Regions from separate parts of the Homo sapiens genome. Here region 2 is linked to region 1. Evidence: promoter capture Hi-C in 16 types of primary human blood cells and fetal thymus (Javierre and others, 2016). All regions are on one chromosome and are shown on one strand. Each heading gives the region's core, a stretch centred on a gene start or on the middle of the fragment in contact. The rest is flanking DNA. Distances are from core to core; before and after follow the strand shown. Region 1 holds the start of TIAM1-AS1 (TIAM1 antisense RNA 1). Region 2 holds the start of KRTAP7-1 (keratin associated protein 7-1).

Evidence for each region. Contacts are between HindIII fragments. The CHiCAGO score rates a contact against its expected background, and 5 or more counts as called.
Region 2: a contact is called between a fragment that was not itself captured here and the fragment with the promoter of TIAM1-AS1 in region 1, in 1 of 17 cell types (M2 macrophages). The highest score is 5.5, in M2 macrophages.

The regions. Positions count from the first base shown.
Region 1 is chr21:31,556,975-31,562,228 of GRCh38, forward strand. TIAM1-AS1 (TIAM1 antisense RNA 1) reads left to right here and starts at 2,259. Exons shown (of 2, transcript NR_171013.1): 1 at 2,259-2,621; 2 at 3,043-3,513. It also overlaps a transcript of TIAM1 not described here. RefSeq lists enhancers at 259-1,072, 1,886-2,698 and a silencer at 1,978-2,607. The HindIII fragment of the contact is 6,855 bases long and covers 1-4,119 here.
Region 2 is chr21:30,828,179-30,833,432 of GRCh38, forward strand. It overlaps KRTAP7-1 (keratin associated protein 7-1), which reads right to left and starts at 1,581. Exons shown (of 1, transcript NM_181606.3): 1 at 861-1,581. The coding sequence starts at 1,520. The coding sequence ends at 1,257. The HindIII fragment of the contact is 1,534 bases long and covers 1,902-3,435 here.

The DNA.
Region 1 (5,254 bases), core at 1,009-3,508:
ACCTCCAGACATCTCTTTGTTCAAACCTCCCTCCTTCCTGGACTTAATCACTTTCCACAGCAGTCCTTGGTTCACTGGCAACTGCTTTCCACCTGGAAGGGTTTTTCCTTCTCCAAACCCAGGTCTGGGTCCCAGCAGAATCTTGAAGAAGAAAGAAGAAACAACTAAAACCTAATGGAAATTCAAACACATTTTTAAAAGGGCTGCAAGCGATTAGATAAATCTAATTAAACCTAAGGCCAAGTAAAACAAGTCCTGTTTGAAGCTGAGAACAGCAGTCCTTCATGCCTTTTATAATAAAAAGAAATTGGGGCTGGGGGAGTGAAGAACGCAGAAAAGGAAAGCGACAAGGGGCCATCCTCTATTACAGATTTCCTCTAACACAGAATCAACAGGACTCTAATATTTCATACGTGGCTGTCACTGTGCTTTGAGGTTAATCTATATGGTCGTTTAAGCCCCGCCCCCCTAGAGGTTATTCCTTATCCCCACTTTACAGATGCGCAAACTGAGACACAGGAAGATAGAATAGCTCGGCCGGGATCACCCAGCTTGTGAGTGACACCGAGCAGGTACTGGAACCCGGGTTTGTTTGACCTCAGCGCACAGGCTCTAAACCTCTGCTCCAACTCAAAGTATGCGCCAAGTCAGCGTGCATGGGTAACCCGATCCGGACGGCTCTGACTCGGGATGCGGCACAGCTGCCCTGCGGGGCCGCGCGGGTGTCACCGAGGCGGGCACAGACTGCACAGTGTCCCCAAGGGCTCGCGCACGTCCTTCAAGACCTGCCAGCGCGCGGGAAAAGGCAGGCTCCGAGTCAACCAGGGCTGACCCGGGGGCAAGACCAGGAGACGCGACGACTGGAACCGGGTGAGTGTGGCCGAGTCGGCGCCCCGAGGGCCGCCAGCCTGGACCCCAGGCTGGGACACGGGCGCCCCCGGGTGCAGGGGACCTAGAGGCGCCGTGCGCGGCGGGGGCTGGGCGCGAAGGCGCCGAGACGGCATCTTTCCCCTGCAGCATCCCGCCCCGCGGCCGGGGGGAGGGGGCGTCACCTGACAGCGCGCAACAACTTCTCCAGGTTTCGAGGGGGCAAGCGGCAGCCGCCGGGGCTGGGGGGCGCACGGCGCGCTGCTCTCGCCCAATGGCGAGGTCTGTAAACAAAAGCGGGCCCCACGCGGGTCCCCAGCCGGGTGGCGAGGGGCGCGGCGCAGCAGCATCGCAGCGGCAGAGCTGGTGAGAGGGCGAGGCGGGGACGGGATAGGGCGCGGGGACCCAGGGCACAGTCCCCGGGACCCGACCGCCCGGATGAGGCATTGTCTGCGCACCCGCAGGATTCCGCTTTTAATGCCCCCCTCCGGGGGTTCGTCGCGGGTCCCCAGCTCCGTGCGCCGGCCCCCGGGCTTTCCGCCCGGTGAGCCCGGCCCCGAGGGCGGCACGGATCGCCAAGGTGAGCGCCCAGGACGCGTCGCCGAAAAGCCAGGCCCGGAGGTGCCTAAGTCAGGGACCGAGACGCAAACATAGACACAAGGATGCACAAGCACGCCCTCCCCGAAGTTGACAAAAATCAGCCGATAAAATACAAAGTGCCGCGGCCGCCGCAGGTCAGCGCTGACCTCCTGCTGCCGAGAGGACCGAATGCCGACGTCCGGACGCTGTCATTTCCATCCAGCGAAGGCACCTGGGCTGCACGGTCTCGTCTCCCTCCTTCGCGCGAGGGATGCCTCCTCCTGCCTCTCCTCCCCGCATCTCCCCACCTCCCAAGTGTGTGAACACGAAAACAATACGTGGAAAGCCCGATCGGGGGGAGCTAGGACCCGCCGGGAGCCCCAGTGTGCGGGAGACGGGGGTCAGAACGTGCCCGGCACGGGCACCGAGGCTCCGGGCATCCTCGCCGCCGTCTCCCGGGGCGGCTCCGGCCGGACGCCCGCGCACCCCAGGCCCGCGGTACTCACCCGCGACGGTCGTCCGGGATCTCCGCGACGGGGCCGGGCACGATGCGGGGCAGCCGTGCCCCTGGGGCTGCGGGCGCCAAGGCGTCCGCGGAGCTGCAGAGCTGCGCGCCCGACGGCGGCGGCGCTGCTCTGCCGGCCGCGCTCGAACCCGCTCGTGGTCTGCCAATCGGAGCTGTCAGGGCCCCTCCGCCTGCGGCCTCGGGGGCCGGGCCGCGGGAGCCCGTGGGAAACCGAGCTCCGATTGGGCCGCCTGACAATCGCTCCGCCTCCGGCCAGCCAATCCGAGGCGGTGGATGCAGGAGCGGGGCGTTCGGAGTTGGGCTGTAGAGCGACTATGGGCGCACGCCGGGTATCCGCGCCGCAGCCAGGCTCGGAGCGCGCGGCTGGAGGGGCGCGGGCGGCGCGCGCTCCAGAGATGCCTTCCTGCGAGGCTCCGTCAGCGCGGCCCGGGGAGATCGCCCGCAGGCAGCGGAGGCGCGGCGGGCCGGGGGACGACCAGGGAGCCCCTAACAAAGCAGCTTTGGGAGGGCCGGAGGCCTCTGCCTCCCTCGGCGATAGGTCCGCGAAGCTGCCTGTCATCTCGCATAGGTGGAGGTGGCCAATGGCGTGCACAGACGGAGCTCTAGTTGGCGCGCGCGCGCGGCTCGGCATCGGTGGGATTGGTCGGAGGTAAAGGATTTTCCTGCCACCTAAGGCGGAGAGGAAGGGGGATCGAAACGGGGGAGGCGAAGAGTCAAAAAATGTTGTGCCTGGGACAAGTGGTCTGGCGCGGGAGGCGTGTGCCTGGCTCTAGGGGGAGACAGGAACTTTTTTACGAGAGAAAAAAATCCTAACGCAATCCCTTCCCGTGGATGCTAGAGGATGTTAGACCCTGAGCAGCCTCCAGGTAGGGCATGGTGGCCTTCACCAGAGTCCAGGACTCCCAGGGTTCACTTACCGTGCCCAGCAAGCGAACTTGGAATAACAGCGTGGGGTTTGGGCCTTACGCTTACCTGCTGGGCAGAGTAAGTGACTCGGGCAGGGTTCACGCAGACCTCCTGGGCTCCTCTGTAAAATCCGGAAACTACAGTTGCAGTTTACCTCTCGCAAGGTTGTGGAGAACGCGGAAACGGAGACGCTGGCGGTACAGCCTCGAGCGAAACCTTTCCCTACACGAGGCCGGAGCTTCCTCCTCTCCTGAAGAGCTCTAGACTTCCCCATTTACAACAAAGGCTGGGATGTATGTTCCTTACACCTTGATTCCATACACACGTGTTCGCCCCGGGAGCTGGGAAGGTCTGCGCTCCCGGGGTGATCTTGTTGAAAACAAAAAGAATTGCCCACGCTGTGGAAGATAAACCTAAACCGGAAAATTGAAAGTCATCCCTGATTCCTCCTTCTTCTTAACCCTCTCCCATCCATTTTTGTTAACCTCCCAAACCCATTCCTCCCATCCTGTCTCACCTGGACCTCAGTAAAGGGCTCCCATCGTCCTTCTGTCCCAGGCCTTGCCCCCTGAAATCTGTTCTCCACTTTGCAGAATGATCCTTCTAAGCAGAAAAATCTCATTTTGCGCTCCCAACTCTGGGTCTCTTTTCTTTCCCCAGAACACGTCAACCCCCAGCCCCTCCCTTCACTTCACTAATTCCTACCCTTCTTCAGATCCCAGCTTGGCCGCCAAGGCATCCATGCAGTAGGCATTGCTGAACTACTGCTCTTACAGACCCCGGGAAGCCTCCTGTACCCTGTCAAGGTTAGATGCCACATTTCCACTTCCAGTGCTTCCACCCCCTGTGCTCCCCTCACAGGCCTGTATGACACGGGGCTGAAGTTGCCTGTTGCACTGCAGCCTTCCATGGAAGCCGGAATCTTATCTATCTTCCCTGCTGGATCCCAGTCCTAGCACAGTGTTTGGCACATTTGGGGCACTGAAAAAACATGGAATCCATGAATTATAGAGGAGCTATAATTATAGGCAAGAGCTTTAAGGATTTGAAGTGCTTCTAAAACATCAGTTTGAGAAGAATGGGTAGCATGGTAGCTCTTGAACGGATGCGTCCACCAGGTTCCATGATCAGTATTACAGGGAGGTTTTTGAGTCAAGTTTGAGAGATTTTCCAAAGACACCCCTTCCAAAACCAGCCTCGTTTCAGCCAACAGCTTGGAATGGAGAATAATTCCCTTGAGAAGCTTTTCATCCCAGGACAAAGAGCCATTTCTTTACCTGTTACAAGCCACCATCTAGGGGAAATACATATATTTGAAAATGAGTAGAGGGTTTTTCCCTAAGGAAGTTTAGAAGTACATCTGGCCATCCTTAAAAGAACAGACCCTGGAGTGAGGCTGCCTAATTTCAGGCCCGGTTCCTTTCTAGCTGTTACCTAGGGCAAGTTACTTCAGGCCTCCGTGCCTCGGTTTCCCCATTTATATAAATGAGATAACAATAGTGCTTCATACCACATACAGTTGGTACGAGGATGAATGAGTTAATATTAACAATGTGCTGGCCAGGCGCGGTGGCTCACTCCTGTAATCCTAGCACTTTGGGAGGCCAAGATGGGCAGATTGCCTGAGCTCAGGAGTTTGAGACCAGCCTGGGCAACACGGTGAAACCCCGTCTCTACTAAAAATACAAAAAATTAGCCGGGCATGGCGGTGTACTCCTGTGGTCCCAGCTACTCAGGAGGCTGAGGGCAGGAGAATTGCTTGAACCCAGAAGGCAGTGGTTGCAGTAAGCCGAGATTGCGCCACTGCACTCCAGCCTGGGCAACAGAACGAGACTCCGTCTCCAAAAAAAAAATAAATAAAAAACAACAATTTAAAAAAAAAATGTGTTTAGAAGAGTACCTGGCACATAGTAGCATTTAATAATGTTTACTGAATAAATAAACAGCTTCCACTGGACATGTGTGTGATGGGTAGGGAGTCCTCATGAGTGAGTGGCGGGTTACTAGAGGCTTCCCTGAAGGTGAGTAATGGGATCTCTCTTCCCTGCCTCATCTGAGGGCTGCTGCCTTAGGGTCTCCTGTTAAGGAGGTGACATTATTGTAAGGAGAACCTCAGATGAATCATCACAGCAGCCATCTGATTGCCTTGTGCCTAAGACGTCTGAAAAGCACTTTGAGATGCAGAATCCTGGCGGTAGGTTGGCTGGGTTGAATCTCAGCTCTACCACCTACCAGCTCTGTAGCCTTGAGAAGGTTACTTAATCTTTCTTAAGCCTCAGTTTATTGATCTCTGAAATAAGGGTAGTAACACCTAACCCGTAAGGATACGGAGACAGTTAAAAAGAGGTCACGCGTAGCATATGGTACAAACTCATC
Region 2 (5,254 bases), core at 1,419-3,918, 730 kb before region 1:
TCCATGGTGTATATGTGCCACATTTTCTTAATCCAGTCTATCATTGTTGGACATTTGGGTTGGTTCCAAGTCTTTGCTATTGTGAATAGTGCCGCAATAAACATACGTGTGCATGTGTCTTTATAGCAGCATGATTTATAGACCTTTGGGTATATACCCAGTAATGGGATGGCTGGGTCAAATGTTATTTCTAGTTCTAGATCGACAGGGAGCATTTTCTAAGTGTAGACAACATACCATTTCAAGTGCTTTTGATGGCAACTATTATTTCAAAGAATAAACACTTCATTTTTAGTACTAGTTATATGTATAATCAGAGGTGAAGAAAGTGGAGAAAATAAACCCATCTATCAAAAAAGGATAAAAAATAATATGTGATTTTAGTAGTTGGCTTCCCTTTATTGATCAAATCTTAGGAACTCTTAAAGATAGAGTTTCATAACTAAGTCTATTTAGTTCCAATTCTTCCAACAACATGAGGGGTTCAAATCTCCCCAGAGCTGAGTTCTATAAACAGTAGGAAAGGAGAAATGAACCAAAATGGAATCTTGTCACTAAGGAAAAGAGAAAAGAAAACATGTTTTAGCATTCAACAGCTAAGAAATATTCCTGTTTTATAATCAGCTTTGAGAAACGCCAACAATTGCAGTATATCTGGGTTAAATACGGGACATTTCCAGGGAGTTTTTTAAATTGAAATATCAATATAAAAATAAAAAATGGTTAGGCATCACCCTATCCTGGCTATATAGTCTGAAATCAGAATAAAATTTGGTTAAAGTCAACCATTACGGGTTTAAACTGATTGATGAATTCAAGAGCATAAAAGAGAAGTGAAATAAATAACCAGGACAAAAATATTTATGCTGAAGGAAATAGATTTATTAAGAGACTGACAGAAAATCCCCTTACTACCCACACCCAATTTGTAATACATTAATGTTGATGTAGAAGCTAATAATACATGAGCAGAGCAACCATGGGAGGCAAACTACTTTTTCACTGTTAAAATTCAAGTATGACCAAAAAAATGCATCTTGCTTCCTTTGTCTGTAGATGAGTATCAGTTCAGCACCTGAGTCCTGGGTGACTTGTCCAACAGCATCAAAGACAAAGACCACAGCAAGAAGTCAGCAAGAAGATGGAAGATGTATCACCCAAGCACATGGGAAGGTAGGAAGACAGTCATTGCTCTTCAGGTTGTTCTGTGCAGAGAATTAATTGAGAGTCCTGTAGTCACTGGAGCCATTGGTCCATCAGTAGGTGCTGTAGCCAAAGCCAGAGCCAGAGCCCCATGGCCTATAGAAGCTACCACCATAGCAGCCGCCCAGGTTGTTGATGTTGCTACCACCAAAGCTGTAGCCCAGGGAGCTGTAGCCATTGCATCCACAGCCATAGTTCAGGGGAGAGCCCAGAGGCACAACACAGTTCAAGGGGGTGGCTCTGAAGGTCCCATGGAAGTTGGTCCCATAGATAGGGTATCCTGGGAAGTAGCTTCCACAGCAGAAGTAACGAGTCATGGTGGCAGCAATTGAGAAGGATTTAGATGGATTGTGAAGGGTAAGTTACCCAAGTGTTAATGAAGGTCTCTTCCCGTACAGGGCTTTTTATACCTCAAGCTGGTGGGCACAACACATCTGTCTAAACATCTTCCCACTAATTTGCATAGGTAATCTCATTCTTTTCTAATAAAATGCTTATAAGGAATGCACAGACTCATTGCCCACATTTTTGTTGGCTTTTCTCTGTACTATTTTAAAGCCAGTGACCATGCTTGACACGCAATCGAATTCTTTTCATCAGAGTCCCATAGTTTAACTACTGTTCTTGATTGCATCATGTGAGACTCTTTAAATCCTCTGATTATAAACTCTTCCCAACTGACATAGCTAAACTAAAAAAGCTTTGGCAAGAATGCAAACACTTCAAGCCAAGACAAAGCCATATATTGAGGTCTTTTGAACATTATTTTGAAACATCAAACTGAAATTCTATAACCTCTTGAAATTCACCCATGTGCCCTTTTAAAACAATTGTATACCAACTAGTTAATGGGTACAGAGTTTCCTTTTGGAGTGAAGAAAATCATTTGGAACTAGACAATGTTGCAAAACATTTGGAATGTACTAAATATCACTGAATTGTTACCTTTAAAATGCCTTGGTTTGTGTTATACAAATTTTAACTCAAAATGTATTTTTTATTTTAAAAAGCACTGCTACACAAATCTATCCAACCAGGTGTTTTTACAGAGGCTGCAATGGTGCCAAATAATAAGTTGGCTGTGAATAACCTGCAAGTAATTTTCATCAATTTCATTTATGAGCATTCTGTTTGTTAATACATATTTTATTTTTTCATGGAGAACATACCATGTTTGCTTGTAAATCATCTTGAACATTGCCAAACTGTCTTTCTGGAGTTGCCACACTGGCGCTGAGTGGGATGATGCTCAATTTCAGAGTCATGTTATACCACACTTGCTTCTTACTGACTCCTATAAAACAAGCCTGAATGCCATGATCCATTATGAAATACCAGTTATATTTAAGGATGCAACACTTCCTTCTGCTCTTATTTTGCCTTACATAACCAATTCTCATGAAGAACGTAAACCAGGAAGGATCTGAGCTCAGCAAAGCTAAGTCTATTCCAATTCAAAGGTTTACGACATCATCTTTTTATATGTGAATCAAAGTCAGAATTCTCTGAAAGTAGAAGAAAAAACTTCCTGAATACCAATTCCTTTTTTTATTTCCATCTTAACAGACAATCACAGAGTCCAATATGCAAAACTAATCATTCCTCTCAGACATCCCTCTCTCTTTAAGATTCTATCTCTCTCAGTTTCTCTGACAGAGAGCTGCCTAAAGAATGTTCTATAAGTGGATATGATTTCTTTTATTCTACAAATTAATTAAATGTCATAAGAGTATATAGAGAAAGTTAAAGAAAAATAAGTTATAATTTCAAATTCAGTTTAACAAAAAGAATGAATTAAAATGGTAAGAGGTTGTGTCCTCAGGGTTTAAATTATATAAACTCTGTATCAGATAATCCAGAAAACTCAAAAATACGTTTGTGATTAGGAGAGGGCAGGGGTGACTAAGAATTACGCGTGACTTGAAAAATTTCACTACTGATTCTATCACACAATGACATTGGAACCTGTAATTTGTACATGCTGCCACCAGGTGGCAGTGGTATTTCAGTTACTCCGTATAAACCACAGGACTGGATTTAGGGTTCTCAAATGTAAGCAGGTAGAAGAATCTTCTAAAGAATTCGCTTGAAATTCAGAATTCCAGGAGCTCTCCTCTCCCACCACCACCTGAGATTCTGGAAATCTCTATTTGTAATGGGTATCTCAGGTAATTCTGATGAATAAATCATCCTGATAAATTCCAGGGCTGGTTTGTCATGAGAATTCAAAAAAGCTTTTGCTGGGCTGTGTGAAATTGCCCAGAGATGCTTATCTCTCATTGGCAGGAGTGTTTGGTTTCAGTCGCTGGTGACTTATTTCCCTTAACTCTGGATGATAGAGGTAATTAAAGAAAAAGCTTTAGTTTGTCCTCTTCCATTTCTTGATGCTCTCTGCTTCTTGTCTCAGGACACACCTGATTAGAAAGGGAAGGTAACAGCAATGTGTTCAAGTGTCTCCTCAGAGGTAAAACCCACCTATGTGACTGCTGGTTTTGTTACCCATAATCAAAAGAAAAACTTATATTTTCTCCTTAGCTTGTTTTCACTTTCCTATCTCTTACTAGACATACCCAGAGAAAATTATCAGCCAAGTACTCGATTGCTATTCAATGATTTTTAAGATTGATAATAACAAAAAATATCATTAAGGACTTACTCTGTGCTAGACTCTGTTCTAAAGAATTTGCACATACTACTTAATTATATATTTTACCTCTATATATAGTAAGAAGGCTTACTATGCACTATTCCAAGCATTTGACAAGTGTTAATTCATTTAATTTTTATAATGATCTTATGATGTGGGTATTATGATTCTTTATAAGAAAACCGAGTCCAGAGGGTTTAAGAGAATTACTGAAGGTCACATGGTTAATAGTCAGCAGAATCAATCTCCAAACCCATGCCATCTACCTCCAAGCCATGCTCTTAACTACTTTACTATCCTGCTTTTGATATGTCATTAAGGCTTTAAAGGGATATAGCTTCTACATGCCTCAAATCTATAATTCATTGCATTATTTTTTGAAGAACACATCGATCTAGCTTTTGCTGCTAAAAACTAGAAAACAAAAAAACAAAGGCTAGTTTTTGCTGCTATAACAGACAGACATCCAAAATTTCCATGTTCAGAAATGTATTGCCTGCTCACACTATGAATTCCTCTCACATTGGTGACTGTCTTGGATACACATCATTTTCACTCAAAAGACTCAAGCTGACAGTGCTTTGATTATCTGAAATATGACAAACAGGGGAAAATGAATGGGGCAAGCCATGGTAGCTTTTAAAGGCTCTCCTCAAGTGTTATACACCATTTCCACACTCTCCTCATTTCCTAAAGTAAGTTCCACAGCCACATCTAACTTCACAGGTCACGAAGAGCAATGCTACTATGTGCCTGGAGGGCGAAAGCCTACAATGTCACCGAACAACATTAATGACTTCCACTGAATTTCTATTCCTTACATGGGCTAAAATAATTTTAACAGATTTTAACACATATTTCAAAAGATTAGATGAGGGCAGACATAAAAAGTTTTTTAGAACTTTACATATCATAATGTAAAATGGTCCTGATAATTCTAATCCTGAACAATTTTAAATATAGAGGTTTTATAAGTTGTTTGTGCAATTCATGTAATATTAGTCAGCCTTTGGTTGTAGATTAGCATGTAGCTTTAATTCCTTTTCTTTGTTTTCTTTTCTCCATTTCCCCCTAATCACTATGTACTCTAATTGAGGGAAAAGTTGCCATAAATATTAGTTTTACAAAGAAAATCCCTCAATGCCAATTGATTTGGTGGGGGGAGAGATTAGTTCTAACACCAGATTTTATTTGATTTATTTGAATGCATGTATTTTCTTTAAAGAAAAGAGAAAATGAATTGACACATAGTATTTACAAGGAAAAAAATAAGCAATAAGGAGCCTACATGACATATTCACTTGGAAATTTGAGAACTTTTATCAGGCAAGGATCAGACCCCACTCATAGCCTCCCAGCCTCTCCCACCTCTTATGCAGCTGCCCCTATAGGAATCATCTTGGT